Linked DNA regions of Homo sapiens: region 2 is linked to region 1. Evidence: promoter capture Hi-C in human tissues and cell types (Jung and others, 2019). All regions are on one chromosome and are shown on one strand. Each heading gives the region's core, a stretch centred on a gene start or on the middle of the fragment in contact. The rest is flanking DNA. Distances are from core to core; before and after follow the strand shown.

Evidence for each region. The method cuts DNA at HindIII sites, captures the fragments that hold promoters and counts their contacts. A contact is called where the count stands out against the background at its distance.
Region 2: a contact is called between the fragment with the promoter of CSNK2A1 here and a fragment that was not itself captured in region 1, in 1 of the 25 tissues and cell types used here (dorsolateral prefrontal cortex).

Annotation. Positions count from the first base shown.
Region 1 is chr20:1,382,295-1,389,736 of GRCh38, reverse strand. The region is part of intron 2 of FKBP1A (FKBP prolyl isomerase 1A); the gene reads left to right. The region is part of intron 2 of FKBP1A-SDCBP2 (FKBP1A-SDCBP2 readthrough (NMD candidate)); the gene reads left to right. Among named protein-coding and RNA genes, the nearest start is that of MIR6869, 6.9 kb to the left of the region's middle. The HindIII fragment of the contact is 7,512 bases long and covers 1-5,835 here.
Region 2 is chr20:540,752-548,193 of GRCh38, reverse strand. It overlaps CSNK2A1 (casein kinase 2 alpha 1), which reads left to right and starts at 4,404. Exons shown (of 14, transcript NM_177559.3): 1 at 4,404-4,522. RefSeq lists enhancers at 3,939-3,998, 4,109-4,158, 4,269-4,348, 4,369-4,518, 4,004-4,697 and 1 more and a silencer at 4,839-4,898. The HindIII fragment of the contact is 15,109 bases long and covers 1-6,789 here.

The DNA of each region.
Region 1 (7,442 bases), core at 830-3,329:
GGCCGTGTGCCTGCCATTGTGAGAGCAGCCCCAAGGGGATTGAAGGAATGTTTTCTTTTTTCTTCTTAAAAAGTAACTAACTGGACATTTTGTCCTTGGGATCAGGTTTAAGTCAGGTATAGCCTCCCGGTTTCTGACTGAGAAAAACCAGGAGCCCCTCAACCTCATGTCCTCAGGAGGTTGACTGGGAAGGCTGCTGAGGCTCCCGGGACAGGTGTGGCCACTTTGCTGCAGCCTCCCTCAAGCCCCTTGCTTTTCCTTAGCTTTGTTCCCCCCTCTCCTCTGCTTTATTCCATCCACTCCCTTGCTAGGTATCTCTTGGTTGGTGATCTGATGTCTGGAGGGAGGCTCACCCTCAGCAGAGATGCCTCAGATGGCTTCCCCTGACGTGTGCTGTCTTGAGGCACACAGGCTGTAACTGTTGGGCAGGGCTGCAACAAGTCCCTTTGCCTTCCCACAGCAGATGTTTTTTGAGCAACAGCAGCAAGCCAGGCTCTAGGGACATGGCTAGTGAACTAAATAGACAAAGACCTGATCTGGTGGGGCTTTGCTTATGATGAGGAGACTGATAGTATGGCCATGGAGCACATCAGGTAGTAAGAAGCGCTGGAGAGATTAAAGCAGAGTGAGGGATGGGAAGGGAAGTTGGCTGCTTTTCGTGAGGGTGATTGGAAAAGGCCTCTGAAAAAAATGGCATTTTAACATTCACTCAAAGGACATTGGAGAGGGAGCTACAGGGCTGTCTAGAGTATCCAGGCAGAGGGAAGAGCTAGTGCAGGACCCTGAGGCTGGAGCCTGCTCGGTGCATTAGAGGAACAGTAAGAAGACCGGTGCGTTAGAGGAACAGGAAGTGGATTGTGTGAAAGGGTATGTGGCAGGAGATGAGGGGATGGTGGAGCCTCGTTGGTTTTTATAAAAACGTTGCCTTTTTCTAACTCAGGTGAGAGCCACTGGCTGGCTTGGCTTTTAATGCCCGCCCCCGCCCCCCCAACCCACGCTCCTTCTGGCTACTGTGTGGACAATGGGCTTTTGGGGGCAAAGGCAGAAACAGGACACTGGTTGTATCCCAGGTGTGTGGAGTGCCAGCTCAGGCAGTGGGCAGAAGTGGTGCCAGGTGGACAGTGATCCCCAAAGAGCATGTGGGTTCTTCGCTGTGTTCTGATCTTGACCCTGCCATACAACGGGCTATGAGAGCTTGAACAAATTGTCCCACAGTTCCCAGCTTCCACATGCTGTCTATAAAATGGGAGTAACGATGCCTGCTGTGAAGCAAATGCCTATCGAGACTACCCAGTTGTCTCCAAAGTGTTGCTCTTTTTTAAAACCACAGTTCCATTGAGCCTCACTCATCGCAGTTGTTATGTCTGTAATCTCAGTCTAGAAGAGTCCTTACGCTGTTTTTTTCTTAATAACTCTGATTTCTTCAAAGAGAGCAGGCTAGTTATAGAATACTCCACATCTGTCTTACTGTTTTCTCATGGTATTGTTTAACTTGTTCCCTGCCTTGATTTTCTGAACCGGATGTTTAATCTTTTAAGTGTCTGAATAGATTCCGTTTAAACATTTTAGTGTGAGTACTTCATCCTCAGCACACATGGGAAACATCACTAGTTGTGATGCTAAATTTGATCTTTTCTGTAAAGGTACATTTTTCCCTTTGCATTTAGCAGTGATCTGTGGAGTGCTTAGGTAGCCATAGATGGTCTCTTGCTCATCAGCCTTTCACCTAGTGGTGTTTACACCATCTGATCATTCTCCCCTGAAGAAGTCACTGGCATTCACAAAGTGTTGATTTTTAAAATTCCTTCATTCTTTCTAAATTTATTAGCTGTTATCCTTCTATAAGATAAGGTAAAGTAATTCTTTACCTTTAAATACCAAATTTTATTTTTATTTTTTGAGACAGTGTCTCTGTCACTCAGGCTGGAGTGCAGTGGCTTGATCATGGCTCACTGTAGCCTCGACCTCCCAGACTCCCATCCCGGCCTCCCATCCGGCCTTCTGAATAGTTGGGCATACAGGTGCATGCCACCTGTCCTAATTTTTGTATTTTTTGTAGAGACGGGTTTCGCCAGGTTTCCCAGGCTAGTCTCAAACTCCTGGCCTCAAGTGATCCACCCTCCTTAGCCTCCCAAAGTGCTGGTAGTACAGGCATGAGCCACCGTGCCCAGCCTTTAATTACCAATTTTTAAAATGAAAAATGAATGTTAACTGATGGGGTATTGCCATTCCCAGTGGGGGCAAGTGACTTTTTCCCCCTCTATTTGCTTTGACTGTACTGTGGGCTGAAATTTTTTGTCAGGGCCTTAAGATCAATGATACCCATTATTCTTTTTGATGCTAATATCATCCTAAATTTGGCCAGTAGGAGCCCTTTAAGCTGGCTCCAGTACCTTTTTGACAGGCTCCCACCATTCCTTCATCCATTTCTCGGTTTCACTACTCTGGTCCAATTATCAGCCATCTTTCAAAGAGCTCTGGTTCCTTTCAGTGGGGTCCATGACCTTTTTTTTTCTTGGTAACAGCTTTATTGAATATAATTTACATACCATAAATTCACCTATTTACTCATAGATGTTTTAACTAGAACATTTTTAGGCTTAAACTGATTTTTATGAATTACTGAGGGGTTTATTGTATCCATAAACTGGAAATCATTTGTCTGCCTTGGAATTTTCTCTAAAAATATTGTCACCTGCTGTTTCCCATGGAAGAAGCCAAGGTTATGAATAACTTAATCACATAGCATTCAGTTCTCCCTTTGGTGCTCATGGTGACATTTGTTTATTTTTACTTCTATTTTTTCTTCTGTTTTTTTGTTTTCTTTTCCTGCTAAAAAGCTTAACCAAGTCTCTGCATTCCCTCCCCTGGACCCCTTTGATTTTGACCAGGTGTATTCTAGCAGTGCAGAAAGTCGGGGAGGTAGAAATAACCAGTTCTTAGATGCTACTGTCTCTTTCTGTTACATTTGCTCTTCCTCTCCCAGGAGCTCAAGCCACCTTGGCCTGCATTCATTCCTCGAATGCTCCAAGCCTTTTCCCACATGGAGGTCTCTGCCCCTTTGCTTAGGTGCCACCACACTGCCCCCACTCCCCACTGCATGACAGGCTCTTTTCTTTATAGCACAGCTTAAGTAACACTTTGGATGCATACATGCATGCTTCTAATTCTGCAACAATGCACCCATCTATTTTCTTAGCCCCCATCATAGTCAGGATCCGTGTAGTTAAACATCTGCTCTTTCCCCAACCGACTGAAGGCTCCAGGAGGCCAGACCCACACTAGTGTTGTTCTCCAAGGTCTCCCCATCAGTCTTGGCATAGAGTAGCTATTCAGTGACTGTTTGAATGAGTGGCCAGTTAGGACCTGGCATTCCCTCGGTCACTCAGTGAATATATAAGGAGCTGGGCAAAGCCTCAATGTTGCCCTCAAGAAGCTTACCCTGTAGGGAGTGGTCAGTTACAATGAAAGTACCTCAGGCAACCTACACCTATAGGCTAGAACTTCTTGGAGGAAGTGCCATTTGGTCTTGGGTGTGTATGGTGCAGTCAGGCAGGAGGAAAGCGTCTTCCAGGTATATACACAGGCCAGGAGGAGAAAAGGGTACCTTTGATATTTCTGTAAGTACTTGATGAATGTCTGCTATGTACAAGACACTGTCCTGGCTACCAAGAATTTAGGAGTGAAGAAGACACAGTTCCTGCCTTCATCTCACACTGTAGTGGAAAAGACATAATAAATATGATTAATAAGCAAGACTGTTGTGTATAAGCTAGTAAGTGTTAAGGAGGGAATAGGAAAAGGTTGAGGTTTTAGATAGATTGGCAAAGGCCTCAATGAGAAAGTGACATTTGAGCAAAGACTTGAAGGAGGTAAGGATGTAACCTATGTGACTGTTTGAGCAAGATCATTTTAGGCAGAGAGAACAGCAAATGCAAAGGCCCACGGGTGGAGGTATCCCTGGTGTGTATGTAGAACATAAGGAAACAATGTTCTGGGACTGGAAAAGTACAAGAGTAATCAGAGGTGAAGTCAGAGGGATGGTGGTAGGGGCGGAGGCTTGACACTTCTTAGAGGGTCTTGTAGGCCATTTTAAGAGTTTTATCTCCTGAGATGGGGGAGTCACAGGAGTTTTTCAGCCGAGGGGTAGTAGGGTCTGGCTGCTGTGTCAGGTTTAGACTGTAGGAGAGCAAGAGCAGAAGCAGGGAGACCAGGGAGGGAGTTGTAATAATAGTCTGTAACAGAGGTCCAGAACTCATGCCTTTAACCATTATACCCTATAGAAAATGCATATTTCTACCACTTCCAGCTAGCTATTGTTAAGTGGTATTTCTTTTGATTTTTTTGGAGATGGAGTCTCACTCTGTCGCCCAGGCTGGAGTGCCCTGGTGCAATCTCGGCTCACTGCAACCTCTGCCTCCCGGGTTCAAGCAGTTCTCCTGCCTCAGCCTCCCAAGTAGCTGGGACTACAGGCGCACGCCACCATGCCCGGCTGATTTTTTGTATTTTAGTAGATACAGGGTTTCACCATGTTGCCCAGGCTGGTCTCAAACTCCGAAGCTCAGGCAGTCCACCTGCCTCAGCCTCCCAAAGTGCTAGGATTACAGGCGTGAGCCACTGCACCCGGCCTAGTGGTATTTCTTTCTCCCCCTCCCCATGCGATATAATGTGGTAGTAACTCCTCTTATTTATACTGTGATTAAAGTGGAAAATGGAGAGACACACCCACAGGGCATGCATTCTGGTCTGTGTTCTTTTTATTGCCGTTGGATCCTGCATATTCTTCCCATCATGGGCCCTGCCTTTGAAAATACACTTTTGGTTATAGGATCTAAAGGGATTTAGCCAAAGGTTAGAAGCATTTCCATACTGCGTATGGGAAATGTGCTTGCACTGTTGGTGATCTCAGGAAAATGATAGTGAGAGTGAGCTGGTTCCCTCTTTGGGTTGGCACTTGGACCTTTGGTCATACCCCTCACTCATAAGGAGTTCTCAGAACCCCACTTCAGGGAGGTTGTGCTGGAATACAGCCACAGAGACCCAGAAATGGAATAATAAGAATGTAAGATTTGAATTTGTATCTTTTGCCTATCTAAATGTAGAATCCCTTTTTACCCATCATGATTGAGACAAGTGGGTAGTTGGTATGCTAACATAAAAGTGACATGGCTTCTGTAAACATTTGATTTCAAACTCTAACATAAATCATTTGCTAAAGGACTATGTCTTTATCTTTGAGGATGGCTCTGCTAGTGGAGTTTCCCATCATAGTTCTTGCAAAAACCAATTTGACCTTTTTTAAAGTAGAGCAAAGAGTATTGTGAGAACATTTAAAAACCAAACCTTTCCAGATTTTTAAGATTTCTTTCTCTAAATGTAGTCTCCCATATGATTATTCACTAGCAATAGTTTTTTAGTGACTTGCCTTTATTGAGTCTTTCCCAGGAGTCAGCTAGAACCGCTGTTTGTATTCACACTCATTTTATTGATTTACATACTATTTAATTACATTATATTTACACAGTAAATATAGCTACCATAAATGGATTTGGGGACAAACACAGCTAACCACTCCTCCCTTTGTGAACACAGAACTCATATGGGAATGAAGAAGTGATCATGAGCTAGAGACTAAAGCATGAGGGGAGTGCTCTTCACTATGCTGGGGTACGAAGGCTGTGAGTTTTATGAGTCTCCAAGTAAGGCAGCTGAGTAAAAGGTGGTTAAGAGAACTTCTGTGTCTAATAAGAAGAGGGAAAGCAAACAGCTAAACCATTAGACCTTGAGCCATACGCCCATCTGGGAATGTTCTGAGTGGCTTCAAATGCAAAGCTGCAGAAAAATACTGGCTCCCCCTACCTCCACCCATTCAACCATTACACCTTTTTTTTTTTTTTTAAGAGACAGAGTCTCGTTCTGTTGCCCAGTCTGGAGTGTACTTGTGCGGTCATAGCTCACTGCAACCTCAAACCTCTGGGCTCAAGTGATCTCCCACTTGATCCACTCAAGTAGCTAGGACCATGTCTGGCTAAATTTTTTTTTTTTTTTTTTTAATTTTTTGCAGAAACAGGATTGGGGACATGAGTCTTGCTGTGTTGCCCAGGCTGGTTGCAAACTCATGCCAGTCTCAAACTCCTGGCCTCAAGTGATTCTCCTGCCTTGGCCTTCCAAAGCACTGGGATTACAGGCATGAGCCTCCTCCGCAGCTGGCCTCATTGTACTTTTTGTCATTAAGAAACTCACCTGCGTGTTGAAAGTAGAAATCCTTTTCCCTCTCCAAACTGTAAATGGCAAGGACTTTATTTTATTTTGAAGGTTTGGGGCTTAGGATATTCTGGTTTTTTGTTATGTTTGATTTTTGGTTTAGTTTAGTCATTTTTTTTTTTTTAATCTTAAAACTTCCCATATTTTGTCCCTGTAAAATGCTGCCTATAGGAAACACTCCTGCAAAGATTCATGAGCAACTATAAACTGCATTGTGAGTCATGAGCTTTCACTACAAGTAGTGAAGCCATAAGTCTGTAGAGGTGCCTTCTTCAGTCCTGTTACCCAGTAGAAGGTATATGGCACTCTGCCCTTCCCCAAAGCAGAGTGCCTTGGAAGTGACTCCATTTCTATTGGGTTATTAGTGAAATAGTATCCCAGTGGTCCTTGTGAATCTCCAGGTCCTGGTCTTGAGTCTTAACCACCGCTTCAGTGGCTTGAGCCAACCACCAGGAACACAGTCTGGGGATACTTTGCTGCCCAGGAGCTGCTGGCCAGGTCTCCCTCTGCTGATTCCTTGAAAAGCAACAGGAAAGAGCAGGCTGCTGTGGAGTAGACAGACTTGAGACTCTCTGCACCGTCTTGTTTTGTAAACCCTTTTGCTCCCTTTCCAAGGATTTCAGTTCAGGAGGAGACCCAGGCGAAGATGACGTCAACAGCCTCTGCATGCAGTCAGTCATAGCTTTGGCTTCTTTCATGGTCTTGTGCTTTTAACTGGAGCACATTTTCACATTTTTCTTACTGATTAGTAACTAAAGGTGCTTAAAGTAAAGTTTACCATTCTGGGATTACCCCTCATATTCTTGTTACCATATAGGGAAGAAGGTCTAAATATGAAGGCCTCATGCTTGTCCTTCTGGTTCTTAAAAATCATGCAAGTAAAGCAAATCCAAGAGTGCTCTTGAGTACCAGCACCATACGTGCCACCAGGACACAGAACGCAGGCCAGGTCTGTGAGCTTGGGCTGCATTCAGTCAGGAGAGCCAAGACTAAATACTTAAAATAAGAATATGGAGCTATTCCAGGCAGTTTGTTAGGCATGAGTTATAGGCTTGTACGGCCAGGAATGAAATTGGTCAGTTCTGCAATTAGAAGGCAATGCTTGTGATGTTTTATGCTGAGTGGCCTTTAGAGCTTAAAGACTGTCAGCTGTCTTGTCTGCACTGTAACCTCAGTTG
Region 2 (7,442 bases), core at 3,155-5,654, 840 kb after region 1:
ACCCGCCTTGGCCTCCCAAAGTGCTGGGATTACAGGCATCAGCCACCGCGCCCGGCCTACTAATTTTTATAAGACATAAAAATTTTTATTCTACTAATTTTTATAAGACATACATCTCCAGCTGAACGCAGTGGCTCATGCCTGTAATCCCAGGACTTTGGGAGGCCAAGACAGGCAATCACCTGAGGTCAGGAGTTCAAGACCAGCCTGGCCAACATGGTGAAATCCCATCTCTACTAAAAATACAAAAATTAGCTGGGCATGGTGGGCACCTGTAATCCCAGCTACTCGGGAGGTTGAGGCAGGAGAATCGCTTGAACCCAGAAGGCGGAGGTTGCAGTGAGCCAAGATGGCATCATTGGACTCCACCCTGGGCAACAAGAGTGAAACTCCATCTCAGAAAAAAAAAAGACACACATCTCCTAATTATTTAAATGTGCTTTTTAAATGTTTTCTGATCAAACTACTGTTTGTCTCTTGCTTTGTATCGTATAACAGAATGTCAGGGCCAGATTTCTATGTCAGGACATAATACTGTCTTCATTCTTTTCAATGGCTTTGTCACTTGCTGTGTGACATTGGACTAGTTGTTTAACCTCTCTGAGACTTGGTGTTCTTAATCTCTAAAATGGGGATTAAAAATGTACTGGCCACAGAGAGCTGTTGTGAGGATTAAATGAGTTAATAGATGTAAAGCATCTTGTACAGTGTCTGACACATATTAAGTGCTCAAAAATGTTAGTTCTCATTGCTGTGAATAGCCCCATGTCTGGCTGTACCATAATTTCTTTAACCAGTTCCATGCCTACGATTACTTATGTGATATAATGTTTGCAAAGGTGGCCACAACAATTCCACCCTCCTTATACACATGACTCCTTGCAGTATGATTTGATGTTTTTCTCATGAAGAGATGGAATCTATTTCTACTCTCCTTGAATCTGAGCTGGCCATATGACTGCCTTTGATCGATATAATACAGTGAAAATGATGCTATATCATTTCTAAGCCTAGATCTGAAGAGATCTTGCTGCTTTTGTTTTCTTTCTTCTGGGGGCCGTCATGTAAGTAAGCCTGAGTTAGCTTACTGAAGAAGCAACATGGAGGAGAACCAAGGCACTCAAGCCAACAACCCCAACCAACTGCCAGACATGTGAATGAGGCCATGGAGTTCTAACCAGTTTGCTGGCCTGTTCACTGACAGCAAACGTAAGAGTAAGCCAGGAAAGACCACTTGGAGCAGAAAAGAGCTGTCCTGGCTGAGACATGTCCAAACTGCCAATCCACACAAACATAAAATATTGTTGTTTTAAGCCACTATATTGTGGGGTGATTTTGTTAAGCAGCAATAGAAAGCAAATACACTTAGGTTCTTAGTGCATGATTAAAACTTTTGCCTGTAATTCTAGCACTTTGGGAGGCCAAGGCAGGGGAACTGCTTGAGCCTAGGAGTTCAAGACCAGCCCTGGCAACATAGCAAGACCCCATCTGTACAATAATAATAATAGTAATAATAATACTACTAAATTAAAAATGAGCCAGGCATGGTGGTGCATGTCTGTAGTCCTAGCTACTCAGGAGGCTAAGGTGGGAGGATCGCTTAAGCACAGGAGTTCAAGGTTATAATGAGCTGTGATCATGCCACTGCACTCCAGCCTGGACAACAGAGCAAGATCCTGTCTCAAAAGAGAGAGAGAGAGAGAGAGTCACTCTAATGGCCCAGGTTGAAATGCAAGCTCCATCTCCGGCATGTGACCTTGGGCATGGCCTGTGATCTCTGTGAACCTGAGTCTCCTCATCTGTACGGTGAGATACTTTTGGTTTCTACCTCATCAGGTTGACATGAGGATTAAGTGAGATGATGAACATTCAGTGTGTGGCACAGTGCAAGTACTCTCAACATCTTAACTCTTGCTTCTGCTGCTGTTGTTTGCAGAAAGACTAGCCTGAGAGGTGTGATGTGGGGGATCAGAGACAGTAAGAGTTAAGGATAAATGTTAAGTCTACAACTAGGTGAACACTTGGGATGGGAAGCCTCTTGAGACCGGAGACCTACATGAGGCTGGCGTAGTAGACGGCAGGAGTTGGGTTTCAATTATGTCCTGCATGAGTATGAGGGTTGTATATGTGTGCCCAGGTGAGCCCTCTGAATGAAGTCATGGATAGAGGCCAGAACTAGGAAGAAGAATGAAGAACTAATGCTGTGAGAGAGGCTGAGATTGGAAAGGCATGAAGGCTAAGCAATGGGAAATATCCTCACTACACTCAGATGAAAACCCAGCTTCCTTATCATGACCTGAATGCCCTGCCCACCTCTCCCACCATATTTCTTCCTCTTCTTCCCTTTATTTGCAGTGCTTCAGCCACCATGGCCTCCTTCTTCAAACTTGTGATGCTCTTTCCTGCCTTGGGACGTTTGCACTTACTGTTTCCTTCTCAAAGGGACCTTCTGAACCACTCAAGCTAAAGCTCTATACTTCACAGCTACTTATCTTTTCCTTTCGTAGCACTTATTGCTACCTGAAATTACTTTGTTTATGCATTTGTTTACCTGTGCATTACTTGCTTCTCACTTTAGAAGGTAAGCTCCACCAGTGAGCAACTGGTGTATGTCTTCCTCATAACACATCCCCAGTACCTAGCACAGTGTCTGGCTCATAGCAAATGATGAATTGTTGTGAGTTAAACAAATGTGAATACAGTTGGGAAAAACAAAGCCACAAGAGCCAAAAAGATACGTTCGAGAGGTAGGTAGAAGGGTATCATTTCCTGGAAGATGGCTTCCCAGAAACTTTGGGATTATCTTGTATAACCTCCTCAGTCCACAAGTGGGGAAATTGAGGCCCAGTTACAGGACACTGAGAGAAAAACTGTTGTGGGTTCCCAGGCAATTGGGATCAGATGTCACAAGCTGTCTAGCAGATGAGGTCCAGAGAAGGCCACAGCCACCTCCCTGAGGCCATCACTATAAGTCTGCAGCCACCACCAGCCCTAACCCCACATGGGGAAGAGGTGCCTCTTTGGGAGCAGAGGTGCTAGTCAGCTGACAAACTGTGAAGGCAGGGCTGTGGAGGGTGGAGAGGCCCATTCCTGAGACAACCAGCTATTCTGAGACAGTTAGGGATAATGGTTGGTACTGAAAGAACCTGGCCTCCTCACCCTCGTTCCAGTGCTCACACCTCTGTCCCACCAGAGGTGAGACTAATACTTGAACTCCTTTCAGCAACTCTTAGACGCTTCAGCTTTTATCAGGGCCTGCAAAGGAGAGGTTGATCATCAGATGGAGCCCTGTCCACTGGGGGCTCCCAGTCTGATGGAGGAGACAGACTGAGGTCCTCAGGTTACTGACTGATAGTGTCTGGGTTGGAGGGAGTTAAACAGAGAGGAGACCCCTAGAGGAAAGGATCCCTGAATTAGTTCAATCGGCATACAGAAATTATCCAGTCCATGAGGTGACAGTAAGAGAAGTAACTGCCAGTGTAAAGGGAGGGAGGCAACACAGCTAAGTTCCAGGAATTGTTTGCAGTCTTGTGGGTGGAATCTTCCGGAATTTGAGAAGAGAGTGGCAGAATAGGAGGCTGGAAAGGAGGGTTTGGCCAAATTATGGAGGACTCTGAATGTCAAGTGAAGAGTTTGGGCTATCTTTGGTGCATAAAGAGGTCCATGGGAGATTTTTGACCATAGGGAGACCATGATGAGCTCTGCATGGTAGAAAGTGCTTTGTGGCTGTTTTGGGGAGGTAGCTCGGGCAAGGAGAGCAGGGGTGGGAGGCAGATAGAAGGAAAAAAAAACACTGTATTTTGGACGCACAGCTCTTGGCAGGACTCCTGTAGGAGGAAGGAATTGGGCCTTGGTCTCTTGAGAGCTAGTATCCTCACTTCTCAGACTCCTGCGCCATGCCCTTCCTAGGGTCCAACTTTCATTCACTTCTTCCGAACTCCAAGTTTGAATAGAAAGTGTTGCTGAAACCCTAATTTAAAACGAGGGGTCAGAGCAAAAGAGACTTCAGCTCCCAGAATGCTTGGCTCTACAGCTCTGCAGGTCGCGCATGGTTCTTTTCAAGAAAGGGGGGCCAGCTGGGTGAAGTGTGGGAAACCTGGGTACCGCCATCTTAACTTGGGTCAAACCAACTGTTCACCTAATGGGAGGTTCGTGTTCTCTCTGTTGTCACTTGTTAACACTATTGAAATAAAATGCGCTTAACTATTGCAAGTCTCCTTATTCTGCTTTGCGTTGGGGATTCCTTCCATTTTGCACCCTAGGCCAGAACTGAATCCCTAAGGTTACAATAGGACATCCCAGCATGGCCGCATTCAGAGAGATTCCTCTGGGGGCGGAGTCGGAAGCTGTCTCGCCCCGCCTCCTGGTAGGAGGGGGTTTCCGCTTCCGGCAGCAGCGGCTGCAGCCTCGCTCTGGTCCCTGCGGCTGGCGGCCGAGCCGTGTGTCTCCTCCTCCATCGCCGCCATATTGTCTGTGTGAGCAGAGGGGAGAGCGGCCGCCGCCGCTGCCGCTTCCACCACAGGTACCTAGGGAGCAGCCAGGCGAGGTCGTTGGCGGGTGGGGTGGGCCCAGGATAGGGCAGCGGAGCGCGGCCGACCCTCACGCTTCCAGCAGACTCCTGAGCGGCCCGTCGCCTTCCCCTGCCCCCACCTTCACACATAAACCAAGCGAGGCCCCTGCAGCCCATCGGGGAGGCCCAGGGGCCACCCCTCAGGGCGGAGGGCGAGGTTTGGGGGCAGAGGCCGATGTGAGGGTGGGAACCGGCTGCCGGAGTCCAGCTTATTGCAGAGGAGAGGACTGAACTGGGTGGGGACTAGGGGACAACTTGGAGGAGGGGGTCGTCAGAGGGGGAAGGGAACTTGAGGGGTGGGGCCGCAGGGGGGTGCTGGGGGAGGGTGCGGAGGGAGTGGTGCCTGCTGGGTAGTGTGCAGTGAACCCTCCCGCGAAACTGGGCAGCTGGAGTAGGGGCCTTCTTAGGGTCCCTCTGGGCGGGGCTGAGCTTCCCACCTGCAGAGTGGGTGCGAGGTGGAGAGAACCCCAGGCGGGGTTGCTGGGGCGAAAGGGGGAAGGGACCAAGACGTGGGGCAGAACGTCTGGAGTTGGAGTTAAGGACTAGTTAGGAGCCTGGATAGAAAAAGAGGTATGGAGAGAAAGCTTGGCTAAGGGTATACATATGTTGGTGACCTTTTGAAAGAGTAGGACTTTTCAATTTTGTTTTTCGTTGTGTGTTTTTTGCAGTGTTGGAACATTGCTAGATTAAGCAGGTGATGGGTGGAGCTTCTGTAGTTTGTTTTGGGGAAGCAGAGTCAGGGTCAGGAGAAGTTGCATCTTGGCTATTGCTTTGTGTGGAGGAAAGAGTTTTGAAAAGAAGGTGGCAAATTATTTGGGAAGACTTGATTACTTTTCAGCTGTTTAATTCTACGAGAATGGGACATGGGGAGAGGAAATGAAAACTAAGAAGAGAGGCCGGGCGTGTGGCTCACGCCTGTAATCCCAGCACTCTGGGAGGCCGAGGCGGGTGGATCACGAGGTCAGGAGTTCGAGACCAGCCTGACCAACACGGTGAAACCCCGTCTGTACTAAAAATGCAAATATCAGCCGGGCTTGGTGGCGCGCGCCTGTAATCCCAGCTACTCGGGAGGCTAAGGCAGGAGAATCGCTTGAACCTGGGAGGCGGAGGTGGCAGTGAGCTGAGATCCGCCACTGCACTCCAGCCTGGGCGACAGAGCGAGACTCCGCCTCAAAAAGAAAAAAGAAAACTAAGAAGGGAAGATTTTTCCAAGAATTGGAGACTTCATTCCATCTGAGGAGTGCAGTGTAGGCCCAGTGGTTAAAAACCAGACTGCCTAGGTTCTCAAATATCAGGGCCATTGCTACTTAGCTGTGTGACCTAAACTCTCTAAGCCTCAGTTTTCCCGTCTGTAAAAGGGGGATGATGGTATTTTCTAGCTTGTGAGTTTACGGAGAAGAGTAAATAAGACAATTTGTGTCAAGTGCTTACTACAGTGTCTGGCAGGTAGTAAGTGTAGTAAGTAGCTTTTACCTGTCACTGTAAAGGGACTAGCTGGTATATTTGGGGCTCTTCTGTTCTAAGTAAAATTTATAGTCAAGAATTTGACTGTAGACAGGGCTTTAGAGTAGTATCTTTGTAGTTGTTGTAGGGTTTTGTTGTAAGTCATTTGGCTTTACTGGCTTGGTGGACCTGGGGCTGAAAGTCCAGTACCAATACTAGTTCTCCTCCGTGGTATTCTCAAAAGTTCACCTGCAGTCTTAGCAGGGCATGTTTTTGTCCTTCTGTGACTTTGAAATACTTGGCTTTGGTTTGCTATTGCGGGAGGGTGTATGACTTGAAGAAAGAATGCAAGATTGGAAATTTGCTTAGATTGATTAATCAACTGATTATACAGTTAGGTCCCCGTGAGGTGACTTTTCTTTAAAAATAAAAAAAAGCCTAGTTATGTACTCCTTTGTGGAATACAGAGAAGAGAAATACACATTTAAGGAGGAGCATGGGTTAGTTTCTAAGTAGTTATGGGTGAAGTGCCTTGCAATTTGAGGATGAAACAGGTGGCAACTCCTTTTCCATACTGCGCGTCCTTTTCCTACTCACTCATCCAGAGTGAGTCCTTGTTTTTACTATTGTCTCTATCTCTGAACATACATCTTTGTGTCACATAAGTAAAGACATATGTATGTATGTATATATACTTTACTTCACATAAGTAAAATATATACATCTTTACTTCACACTCTGTTAAAGAAAGGGATGATTTTCTTTAGGAAGTGAGTTTAAACCCTTCCATAGGACTTGGATTTGTAGTAGGCAGAATTACATCTCCCTCTTCCCAAGGTGCCATACCTTGATCCCCAGAATCTGTAGCTATCCTGTGTTACATGGCAAAAGGAACTTGGCAGGTGTAATTAAGGTTAAGAATCTTAAAATAGAAAAATTATCCTGGATTTTCTGGGTGGGCCGAATCTAGTCACTTAAGTCCTTAAAAGCAGAGAACTTTCTCCAACTGGGATCAGAGAAATGGGCAGAAAAGGAAATCAGAGATTTGAAGCATGAGAAGGACTCCATTTGCCTTTGCTAGAGAGGACCACATGGAAAGTTTATCAGAAGGAATGTGGGCAGCCTCTAGTGGCAAAGACCAGTCCCTGGCTGACAACCAGAAAGAAATGGGGACCTCAGTTGTGCAACCAGAAGGAACCTGAATTTGGTCAACAACCTGATTGAGCTTGGAAGTGAATTTCCCAGTTTCCACCAAGGAATGCAACCTTGAGACACCTTGATTTTTGGCCTCGTGAGACCCTAAGCAAAAGACCTAGCTAGCCAAGCCCACCCAACTTCTGACCTACAATAACTGTGAGATAACAAATTTGTGTTATTTTTAGCTACTACATTTGTGGTAATTTGTTATGGCAGCAGTAGAACACTAGTA